Linked DNA regions of Homo sapiens: region 1 is linked to region 2. Evidence: promoter capture Hi-C in human tissues and cell types (Jung and others, 2019). All regions are on one chromosome and are shown on one strand. The core of a region is centred on a gene start or on the middle of the fragment in contact, and the rest is flanking DNA. Distances in the headings are between cores, read along the strand shown.

Region 1 (6,033 bases), core at 40-2,539, 250 kb before region 2:
TCTCAAAATTTATAAATTGTGTATCTTTTCTTTTTTTCGTTAACAATTATCAATAATACACTTTATATGAAACAAGGGAAAAGATGGGGAAAGATATCGGTTAATCTCTATTTTACATGCAAGGAAGAAAGTATGAATCTTTTGTGCAATGAGTTACGAGGCCCTAATTAGGGTTCCTAGGTTTAGCAAATAAAAATATTATATAGGATGTGCATTTAAGTTTGAATTTTGGAGAAGCAATGAATTTTTTAGTTGTTAATAGGACATACTTACACTAAAAAACCAGTAGTTGTTTCTCCAAGGTTCAGATATAAGTGGTGGGTTTTTTTTGTTGTTTTTGTTTTTTTCTTTTTTTTTTGAGACAGTCTTGCTCTGTTGCCCAGTCTGGAGTGCAGTGGTGTGATCTTGGCTTACTGCAACCTCTGCCTCCTGGGTTCAGCCTATTCTTGTGCCTCAACCTCCTGAGTAGCTGAGATAACAGGCATGTGCCACCACACCTGGCTAATTCTTGTATTTTTAGTAAAGACAAGGTTTTGCCATGATGGCCAGGCTGGTCTCCAACTCCTGGCCTCAAGTGATCCACCCGCCTCAGCCTCCCAAGGTGCTGGGGTTACAGGTGTGAGCCACTGTGCCCGGGCTATAACCAGTGTTAAATCTCGTTTAGCCTAAAGCTGCCTCCTTACATATTTTAAGTTTGGCCTAAAGGTTTCTCTGTACATCGTAAACTATAACCTAAATGGACTTGTAAACAGACTGTAGCCAACGCTTGTGGCAATCACTGAGTTTTGGCTAATCAAAGGTGGCCAACTGTTCAAACTGTGTTCAGATAAGACAAACACCAATCTGTAACCAATCTGGCTGGTTTCTATATCTCACGTGTGTTTTCTGTACTTCATTTTCCTTTCTGTCCATAAATCTTCCACCACGTGGCTGCACTGGAGTCTCTGAGCCCACTCTGGCATGAGAGGCTGCCTGATTCTTGAATTGTTCTTTGCTCAGTTAAACACTGTGAAACTTACCTGAGCTAAAGTTTTCCTTTTAACACTGAGCATCCTGTATTTTATCTGTTAACCCTGGATTGATATTTACAACTTCTTTCTTCCATACCCATTCTATGTTCCTTTGGTTCTTTTACTTCATGAGGTGACCCAAACTTCATTCCTGAAGGGTCTGAGTCCTTGGTTATTCTGCTTGTATTGAGTCACTTGAGGCTTTCATTAACACTGTCACTGAACCTGGCAATCCTCAGAGATATTTCAGGGGATCCCCTGGATACGATGGACTCCTTGTCTCCGTTGTATGGCAGCAACAGCTTCTCGGTGGACAGTCAGGGTCAGTCTTCCTCTTAGAGCTCTTGGTCCTGAGGCAAAGCGACAGCGGGGCAGCCTTTACTTCCGGTTCAAAAAAAGCTATGCAGTGTCCATTCCTGGCGGCATTCTCCCTTGGACACTGAGGCCTCTGAACCTTCAATGGAATGGGAAGACAATATTTTGTCAGAGGCTTTCAGGTAGGAGGACAATGGTAGCACTGTAGGTCCCCAGTGTCGCCTAGAAAAACAATATGGAATGAGGAGAAAAGATAAAATTATGCAACAGCAAGCCCTCAGGATAACTTGGAGACAAGAATGCTCAAACTTAAAAAGAACAAGAAAAACAAATAACATAGAAATTACCTGGCCGGGCGTGGTGACTCACGTTTGTAATCCCAGCACTTTGGGAGGTTGAGGTGGACAGATTCCTTGAGCCCAGGAGTTCGAAACTAGCCTGGGCAACATGGTGAAAACCTGTCTTTACAAAAAATACAAAAATTAGCTGGGTGTGGTTGTGTGCACCTGCAGTTCTAGCTACTTGGGAGGCTGAGATATGAGGATTATTTGAGCCTAGGAGGTCCAGGCTGTACTGAGCTTTGATTGCACCACTGCACTCCAGCCTGGGTGACAGAGTGAGACAAGAAAGAAAGAAAAAAGAAAGAAAGAGAAGAGAAGAAAAGAAAGAAAAAGGAAAAACAAATGGCAGCTCAGACTTTCCTTCCCACGCACCCATTCCAGCCCCACCTGCCACAAGACTGGCTGAGGAAAACTGGGGCAAAGGAGAGGAGGGAGTTGTAATGGGGCTTAAGCTTGATCTAAGACCTCACCAAAAACACTAAGTACACCTTGAGCCTGAAAATGTTCAAAAGTGTCTGCAGTAGTGTCAGAGCTGGGACAATAGGTGGGAGGTTTAAAAGTACACGTGAGGCCAGGCACGGTGGCTCACGCCTGTAATCCCAGCACTTTGGGAGGCCAAGACGGGTGGATCACCTGAGGTCAGGAGTTCGAGACCAGCCTGGCCAACATGGTGAAATCCCATCTCTACTAAAAATACAAAATTAGTCAGGTATGGTGGCATGTGCCTGTAGTCCCAGCTACTCAGGAGGCTAAGGCAGGAGAATCGCTTGAACCGAGGAGGTGGAGGTTGCAGTGAGCTGAGACTGTGCCACTGCACTCCAGCCTGGATGACAGAGCGAGACTTTGTCTCAAAAAAAAGTTATACGTGAAATGTGAAGCCACAGTCTTGGAAACACATAGATCCTTGGGGAGCAACTACCCACAAAAGAAAGGAAAAGTGTCCTTTGGCATTTGGGTGTGAAGAGAGAGGCAAATGGAGAAGTTTAATTGCCCTCCAAGACAAAAAAAAAAAGAAGGCCCACAACCCCCACCCCTGCAAAAACAAATTCACTAAAGCATCTGGACTTCACAATGTTGCCAGAAGAGGGCGTGTTATCTAGGGATCTTGTAAAACACCCAATACCACAAAAATGAATAATGAAAAGATAGGTTCATACAGCTATTGCAAAATATCAGAAAATGAATTTCATCACATATGAACCAAGGAAAATTCACACAAACCTCTGAAACAATAGCCATGAAGAAGAAGAAAGCTGTAATACAACACTAAACAGAACCAAATATATGCAAAACAAGCATTTGAAGACATGCAAAACCATTTTGGGTGGGAAATTTAAAAACAAAGAACAGAAATAGACAAAATAGAGGAAGAAATGAAAATAGATTTGGTTGAACTCAGGAAAGAAATGGAATAAACAGACAAAATTATCTAGAAGTAAAGATTAAATTACAAGATGCCCAAGGGAGAATAAATTCAAATAAAAATTTAATAAGGGGCATTGAAGGAATACAGGTAACCAAGCAAGAGAATGAAAATGAGATAAAGAAGTAGGCTGGGTCCAAAGAAAGTAATGGAAACAGAATATACTCAAAGAAGGAATCACATGTGTATTATTGGAGTCCCTGAAGAAAAAATAAACAAGTAAACCACAACTAATATTTAACACTGTAAGAAAACTGTCCAGGAGCAAAAACTCTGCACATTGGAAGAGCCCACTGGGAATGTGGGCAGATTCACTCAGTGTGATCAACTTTGAAACATATCCTAGTAAAACTCTAATTTCAAAGACTCTTTTTTTTTTTTTTTTTTTTTTTGAAACGGAGTCTCACTCTGTCAACCAGGCTGGAGTGCAGTGGCATGATCTTGGCTCACTGCAACCTCCACCTCCTGGATTCAAGTGATTGTCCTGCCTCAGCCTCCTGAGTAACTGGGATTACAGTCACCTGACACCACGCCCGGATAATTTTTGTATTTTTGGTAGAGACGAGGTTTCGCCATGTTGGCCAGGCTGGTCTGGAACTCCTGACGTCAGGTAATCTGCCCACCTCGGCCTCCCAAAGTACTGGGATTACAGGTGTGAGCCACTGTGCCCAGCCTCAAAGACTCTTTTAAAAAAACCCTCAAGGACTCCAGGCAAAAAGATCAAATAACTCACAAAGGCAAAATAATTAAATAATGAGAATGACAGCAGACTTTTTTTTTTTGAGACGGAGTCTCGCTCTGTTGCCCAGGCAGGAGTGCGATGGCGCGATCTCGGCTCACTGCAGGCTCCGCCTCCCAGGTTCACACCATTCTCCTGCCTCAGCCTCCCGAGTAGCTGGGACTACAGGTGCCCACCACCACACCCGGCTAATTTTTTGTATTTTTTTTTAGTAGAGACGGGGTTTCACCATGTTAGCCAGATGGTCTTGATCTCCTGACCTCATGATCCGCCGGCCTCCGACTCCCAAAGTGCTGGGATTACAGGCGTGAGCCACTGCGCCAGGCCAACAGCAGACTTTTTAAACCAGCATACAAAGCAAGACAGCAATGGAGCAGCAGGTTTTAGACATTACACCTTTACAAGTGTGAGCCAGGATTTTATATTCAGACAAACTATCCTTCAAGTATCATGATTATAGGAAACAATTTTCTGTTTTTCAGTAAGTACCTATGGAATTCTGCACCCATGAGCCAGTCTGATAGAGATGTGTTTCATCCACACCAAAGAGAACGATTATAAATACTATATATGGGCTGAGCATGGTGGCTCACACCTGTAATTCCAGCACTTTGGGAGGTCAAGGTAGGAAGATAGCTTGAGGCCAGGTGTTTGAGAACAGCCTGGGCAACATAGTGAGACCCTGTCTCTACAAAAATTAAAAAAAAAAAAAAGAAAAAACACAACAGCCAAGTGTGGTGGCGCATGCCTGAAGTCCTAGCTGCTCAGGAGGCTGAGGCAGGAGGATGGCAGCTTGAGCCCAGGAGTTCAAGGTTGCAGTAAGCCATGATCACACCACTGCACTCCAGCCTGGGTGACAGGGTGAGGCCTTGTCTCAAAAAAAAAAAAGAAAAAGAAGGCCGGGCACGGTGACTCATGCCTGTAATCCCAGCACTTTGGGAGGTCAAGGCGGGCAGATGACTTGAGGTCAGGAGTTTAAGACCAGCCTGCCCAACATGGTGAAACCCCGTCTCTACTAAAGATACAAAAATTAGCTGGGTGTTGTGGTGGGTGCCTATAATCCCAGCTACTCAGGAGGCTGAGGCAGGAGAATCACTTGAACCTGGAAGGTGGAGGTTGCAGTGACCCGAGATTGCGCTATTGCACTCCAGCCTGGGCGACAAGAGCGAGACTCCGTCTCAAAAGAAAAAAAAAAAACACGTTTTCCATGCCTTGGCAAATTGTCATACTCCTTCCTAAGTTTGGATCAACTTTCAACATCTTATCCTTTGTACTTCCAACGTTGTGAAATATCTCCAAGTTCTTTTAAACTTTTTGCCAGCGGCATTTCTTCTAGGATATCTTTATCCTTTTTGTAACCACTGCCTGCCGTAATAATTATCCTTGATCCTCGTTAGTATAGTGGTTAGTTAAACAAACAAAATCAGCTGGATGTGGTAGCTCATGCCTATAGTCCTTAACATTTTGGGAGGCTAAGGCAGGAGGATTGCCTGAGCTCAGGAGTTCAAGACCAGCCTGGGCAATATAGTGAGACCCCATTTCTAGAAAAAAAATTTTTTTTTTGTATTTTTAGTAGAGATGGGGTTTCACTATGCTGGCCAGGCTGGTCTCGAACTCCTGACCTGGTGACCTGCCCTCCTTGGTCTCCCAAAGTGTTGGGATTACAGTCGTGTGCCACCATGCCTGGCCTAATTTTTGTATTTTTAGTAGAGACGGGGTTTCACCATGTTGGCCAGCCTGGTCTCAAACTCCTGACCTTAGGTGATCCGCCAGCCATGGCCTCCCAAAGTGTTGGGATTACAGGCATGAGCCACCGCCCCTGGCCTCTAAAAAAATGTAAAAACCTAGCTGGGTGTGGTGGCACATGCCTAGCATCTAAGCTACTTGGGAGGCTGAGGCAGGAGGATTGCTTGAGCTCAGGAGTTTGAGGCTGCAGTGAGCCATGATTGTGCCACTGCAGTACAGTTTGGGCAACAGAACGAGACACTGACAAAAAAAAAAAATCCTTGACATCTGGGGATAGATTTCACAGCAACATCCTCATCTGTGCTTGACAGTTTCACATTAATCAATTCATGCCAACTTCTGAAATGATGAAACAAACCACTCTTTACCGTTAGTAAAAGTTTCTGCAGTCTCCTTGAAATTACTGTTTTCTGTCAATGTGGCAATTAACTTCAATGCTTCAGCCTGAATGCTGGCCAA
Region 2 (6,303 bases), core at 1-2,500:
CTGCCACTGCTGTCAGCCAACTCCGGGGGGTCATACTGCTCAAGCTCGGGGATCCCCTTGCGGGGAGGTCCCCCACCGTTGCCCTGGGCCGAATACATGTAGTCCAGGCCCCCAAGCTTCCACTCGCCAGCTCGGTCCACGAACACGGCGGCCATGCAGACATTGTTGTGGATGAGGCTGCAGTCGTTGACCAGGAAGCTGAGGGCTTTCTGGGGGCAAAAGGAGCCATCACGCCCCAGCACCTGCAACCCCCCATCCCTGCTCTCATCACCACTGCCCCCCACCTCACCACGATCTGGTGTAGCCCCCAGGAGATCTCCAGCTCCTTCAGGCCACCAGCCTCCACTCTCGCCTTGAGGTATATTCCCAACGGGGTCACAGCCTCTGTCACGACGTGGAGGCATTTTTCTGTCTGGGGAAGGGGACACAGGGTTATCAAGGGCGGAGGGGCAGAGAGGAAGGAGAGATAAGCGACTTGAAGTTGGGAGAGATGGGGAAGAGGAAACCAAATCTGGGGGTGCTGGGGCACATAGGGTGGAAACAGGGCAGGAGGGGAGACAGGAGTGGGTAACCAGGACATCGTGAGGGGCAGAGACGGGCAGGCAAGGCAGCAGGTACCTCCAGTCCATCGATGTAAGCCAGGATGTTGGGGTGCCGTAGAGTTTTGAAGCGCTTGAAGGCAGCTTTGGCCACCTGGGTCTGCTCTTCCGCGCCAGGCTTCACATCATAGACGAAGATGGACACGGGGCTGCCTGTGGCCTAGGGGAGGGCAGCGGGGCCTGAGATGGTCCCAGAGCTGTTGTGTGGCCGGAAGACAAGGGCCCGCAGCCAGGTCTCTCCCCAGGTCAGCCTTAGGGACACTTCGCCGGGCCCACGTGACCCCGGCCCTGTCCGCCTGTCGGTCCCTCGGTCCCTCCGCCCGCCACGTAGGCACTGCCCGCCCCCTCCCCGGCCTGCTACCCCTTGGTTCCGCCGCCACGTCAGGCCGGGCGCAACGCGACGGGGTCGGCGGCGCGGAATAGGCAAGGCCCAGGTCGACCGCGGCCTACGGAGCTCGGCCGCACTCACCTTCTTGCGGCCGCGGTGCAGGGCCCAGGGCCCGGGCAGGCCGCCCTCTGGGGGCTCCGGGATGAGCTCGAACGGAAAGTCCCGGACCGGGTCCCGGGCAAAGAACCACATCGTCCCCACCGCCGCCGCGGGTTCGGGCGCCTTAGCTCCGGGTCCTCCGGCCGCCCGAGCCGGGGCGGGGCGGAGAGGGGGCGGGGCCTGCGTCAGACGGGGGCGGGGCCCGGGGGCCAGGGCGGGGCCTACGTCGGGGCGGAGCAGGACGTGAATTGGGGCGGGGTGGGGCAGAACCTGAGTTGGGGCGGGAAGGGGCGGGGACAAGGGAGGGGCGGGAGAGGGGCGGGGATGGGGGGGCTAGGGAGGGGCGGGGATGGGGGGGCTAGGGAGGGGCGGGGATGGGGGGGCTAGGGAGGGGCGGGGCAGTCCGGGGCGGCGGGCGGTACTAAGATCAGTACTCCGCCGCCGGGTAAGTCACTTAAAACCCTCCAAGCCTGTGAGCCCTTTTATCTAAAGAGGCCTAAATCCTAAAGGATAATAGAGCCTGCCTTCTAGCGTACTGTAAGGATGAGAGCTTAAGAAGGGACAGAGGGATGGGGAAACCGAGGCAAAAAGGGGGAGAGGTAGAAAGACTGACAGGCATGAGAGGGTGCAGTGAGGAGTGAGGCAGAGACCCAGAGAGGGAGACTGGCCCCACGCCAGACACTCTCTCCCACCAGCAAGTGGGTGCCTCCAGGCTCCGGGGAGGAGTCGGTCCTGGTGAAGTGACCATGAGAGAAGCACGAGGAGACGCCCCAGAGAAAGAGCGTGGGTGAGAGGCAGAGAGTGAATCCAAGGTTCCAAGGAGGTCCAGAACCCCGGGGCAGGGGCGGGCACCCAGGGAATGGAGGAAGGAGAGACTGAGGAGGGAAGAAGAAGTGACCCCAGGAAAGGAGGGAGGGAGAAGGAGCAACTGGGCAGGTCTGGAAGAGGCCAAAGGGCTGGGAGGGGACCCTGCTCTCCTGGGCTCAGCTGCCCGGCTCTCAAGCCAACGGATTGCATCTCTCAGTGCCTGTGTAGACAGCCATGGAGTGGTGTTAGCTCAATCAGCACATCACACTGGTGGGGATCCAGCCCCTGAGCTGTGTAGGAGGGGCTGGACAGGCAGTGGTTCTTCTGCTGGTAGGGTCTCAGGACCCAGGCTTGGGGACAGTGCCTCAACCACAGCTATGGAGCACTGGTGAGATTCTGGGACTGGTTATGAAAAGTCTGGTTGGGATGCCTTTGGGAGATAACTCAAGGGCAGAGATGCCACAGTGAGACGGTGCTGGGTTTCAATCACGGTTCAGCCCCTCATTGGATGTGAGAACTCACACAGTTCCCTTTGGGTGCGTTAGGTCCCCCATCTATAAACTGGGGTGAGGGCCAGGCACAGTGGTTCACGCTTGTAATCTCAGCACTTTGGGAGGCCGAGGCTGGAGGATCACCTGAGGTCAGGAGTTCCAGGTCAGCCTGACCAACATGTTTGAAGGGGGCCTGCCCCTCCACACCTGTGGGTATTTCTCGTCAGGTGGAGACAAGAGACTGAGAAAAGAAATAAGACACAAAGTATAGAGAAAGAACAGTGGGCCCAGGGGACCGGCACACTCAGTATACGAGGACCTGCACCGGCGCTGGTCTCTCAGTTCCCTCAGTATTTACTGATTACTATTTTCACTATCTCTGCAAGGGGACTGCGGCAGAACAGGGTGATGGTGGGAAGAAGGTCAGCAGGAAAACATGTGAGTAAAGGAATCTGCATCATAAATAAGTTCAAGGGAAGGTACTGTGCCCGGATGTGCACGTAGGCTGGATTTATGTTTCTCTTTACCCAAACATCTCAGTGTAGCAAAGAGTAACAGAGCAGTATCACCGCTAGCATATCTCACCTCCAGCCATAGGGCAGTTTTCTCCTATCTCAGAATAGAATGACTGGTGGGCTTTACACCAAGACATTCCATTCCCAGGGACATACGGGAAACAGAGGCCTTCCTCTTATCTCAACCGCAAAGAGATCTTCCTCTTTTACTAATTCTCAGCACAGACCCTTTACGGGTGTCGGGCTGGGGGATGGTAAGGTCTTTCCCTTCCCACAAGGCCATATCAGGCTGTCTCAGTCGGGGAGACAATACCCAGGCTTTCTCGGGCAGAGGTCCCTGTGGCTTTGCACAGTGCATCATGTCCCTGGTTAATAGAGAATGGAGAATGGCGATGACTTTTACCAAGCATACTGCTTGCAAACATATAGTTAACAAGGCACATCCTGCACAGCCCTAAATCCCTTAAACCTTGATTCAATACAGCGCATGTTTCTGTGAGCACAGGGTTGGAACTAAAGTTACAGATTAACAGCATCTCAAAGCAGAAGAATTTTTCTTAGTACAGATCAAAACGGAGTTTCTTATGTCTTCTTTTTTTCTGCATAGACACAGTAACAGTCTGATCTCGCTTCCTTTCCCCCACATATGTGTGGGCGGAGGAATACCTAGGTGCGGAGGCAAGAGATTGAAGGCACAAACTGTTTCAGTATAAAAAAGAAAATAGTTAGAATAAGAATAGTCATAATACAAATTAGATATAGAGATGGTCATGAACAATTATCAATCATTGTTATAAGCATTATTAATCATTAGCTTTTAATATTACTCTTTGTTGCATTACTAATATAACCTAGGAATAACCGGCGGGTATAGGGTCAGGTGCTGAAGGGACATTGTGAGAAGTGACCTAGAAGGCAAGAGGTGAGCCTTCTGTCACGCCCGCATAAGGGCCTCTTGAGGGCTCTTTGGTCAAGCGGTAACGCCAGTGTCTGGGAAGGCACCCGTTACTTAGCAGACCGCGAAAGGGAGTCTCCTTTCCTTGGAGGAGTCAGGGGACACTCTGCTCCACCAGCTTCTTGTGGAAGGCTGGATATTATCCAGGCCTGCCCGCAGTCATCCAGAAGCCTAAACCCCTCCCTGTGGTGCTGTGCTTCAATGCTCACGCTCTTTGTCCACTTTCATGCTCCTCCCATACTCCTGGTTCGTCTTTGAAATTCGTAGTAGATAGAGGTAGAAGAAATAGTGAAAGTCTTAAAGTCTTTGATCTTTCTTATAAGAGCAGAGAAGAAAACGCTGACGTATGCTGCCTTCTCTCTCTGCTTCGGCTACCTAAAAGGGAAGGGCCCCCTATCCTGTAATCACCTGACCTGCTTCACCTTGTCAATCACTTAGAAGATTCACCCTCCTTACCCTGCCCCCTTGTCTTGTATACAATAAATATCAGCGAGCCCAGCCATTTGGGGCCACTACCGGTCTCCGCGTCTTGATGGTAGTGGTCCCTGGGGCCCAGCTGTTTTCTCTTTATCTCTTTGTCTTGTGTCTTTATTTATTACAATCTCTAGTCTCCACACAGGGGGAGAACACATGCTAAGCCCCGTAGGGCTGGACCCTACACATATGTTGAAACCCCGTCTCTACTAAAAACACAAAAATTAGCCAGGTGTGGTGGTGGGCACCTGTAATCCCAGCTACTGGGAAGGCTGAGGCAGGAGAATCGCTTGAATCTGGGAGGTGGAGGTTGCAGTGAGCCGAGATCGCACCACTGCACTCCAGCCTGGACGACAGAGCGAGACTCCATCTCAAAAAAAAAGTGGGAACTTGGATGGGCACGGTAGCTCACGCCTGTAATCCCAGCACTTTGGGAGGCCGAGGCGGATGGCTCACCTGAGGTCAGGAGTTCAAGACCAGCCTGGCCAACATGGTGAAACCCCGTCTCTACTAAAAATACAAAAATTAGCCAGGCGAGGCCAGGCGCAGTGGCTCACGCCTGTAATCCCAGCACTTTGGGAGGCCGAGGCGGGCGGATCACGAGGTCAGGAGATCGAGACCATCCTGGCTAACACAATGAAACCCCGTCTCTACTAAAAATACAAAAAAAATTAGCCGGGCGTGGTGGCAGGCGACTGTAGTCCCAGCTACTCCAGAGGCTGAGGCAGAAGAATGGCGTGAACCTGGGAGGCGGAGCTTGCAGTGAGCCAAGATCGCACCACTGCACTCCAGCCTGGGCAACAGAGCGAGACTCTGTCTCAAAAAAAAAAAAAAAAAAATTAGCCTGGCGTGGTGGCACATGCCTGTAATCCCAGCTACTCAGGAGGCTGAGGGAGAATTGCTTGAACCTGGGAGGCGGAGGTTGCAGTGAGCCAAGATTGCGCCATTGCACTCCAGCCTGGGGGACAAGAGTGAGACTTCGTCTCAAAAATAAATAAATAAATAAAATAATAAAATAAAATAGTGGGAACTTTAAGCTTAGCTAACAGGGATCCAAATTCTTCAAGAGAAAGTATTTGTTGTTCAGCCCACTGTAAGATATCAAGAGCTACTTGCTAATGGCCCACACTTATTTTGTTGATGACTTATCATAGGAAAACCTTTGGTGTTCTTTCTACTTTATCTTATATTATAACGCATGAAACAGAAAAGCTGCTGTAAACAATGCTGAATCTTATGTAACAGCCAAATTTAATTTTAGAAAGTATTTAAATTGTGCTCTGTCCTAGATCTAAATGTTGAGAATTTTAAAAAAAACAAACGTTTTAACATCTGCCAAAGCATGTAAGAATAACTTCAAGCTGCCGGGCTTGGTGGCTCACGCCTGTAATCCCACCACTTTGGAAGGCCGAGGTGGGTGGATCACGAGGTCAGGAGTTCGAGACCAGCCTGGCCAACGTACTGAAAGCCCGTCTCTACTAAAAATACAAAAATTAGCCGGGCGTGGTGGCATGCGCCTGTAATTCCAGCTACTCTGGAGGCTGAGGCAGGAGAATCGCTTGAACCCGGGAGGCGGAGGTTGCAGTGAGCCGAGATCACGCCACTGCACTCCAGCCTGGGACAGAGGGAGACTCCATCTCAAAAATAAAATAAAATAAAATAAACAATAATAACTCCAAAATTAACATTATTTTGACTTCCTATTATTGTCTTTCCAAAAAATGGCTCTGTGTTTTTTGTTTGTTTTGATTTTTACTTCTTTGTTTGGTTTGGTTTTTTTGTTTGTTTTGTTTTTAGCAAATATGATGCCTAAAAAGTAAACTGTTCAGGGTTCTGGCCTATTGTGGTCGGCAGAATACTAGCCCCTCAAAGATGTCCATGTCCTAACTCTCAGAACCTGTGAATATGGGCCAGGTGCAGTGGCTCACACCTGTAATCCCAGCACTTTGGGAGGCCAAGGCGGGCGGATCACATG

The links. The method cuts DNA at HindIII sites, captures the fragments that hold promoters and counts their contacts. A contact is called where the count stands out against the background at its distance.
Region 1: a fragment that was not itself captured here is called in contact with the fragment with the promoter of SCYL1 in region 2 in 1 of the 25 tissues and cell types used here (stomach).

Annotation. Positions count from the first base shown.
Region 1 is chr11:65,766,706-65,772,738 of GRCh38, reverse strand. No RefSeq gene overlaps it. Among named protein-coding and RNA genes, the nearest start is that of AP5B1, 11 kb to the left of the region's middle. The HindIII fragment of the contact is 6,006 bases long and covers 1-4,292 here.
Region 2 is chr11:65,520,030-65,526,332 of GRCh38, reverse strand. SCYL1 (SCY1 like pseudokinase 1) reads right to left here and starts at 1,250. Exons shown (of 18, transcript NM_020680.4): 1 at 1,069-1,250; 2 at 619-759; 3 at 290-412; 4 at 1-209. The coding sequence starts at 1,179. RefSeq lists a silencer at 903-1,402. The HindIII fragment of the contact is 17,278 bases long and covers 1-6,303 here.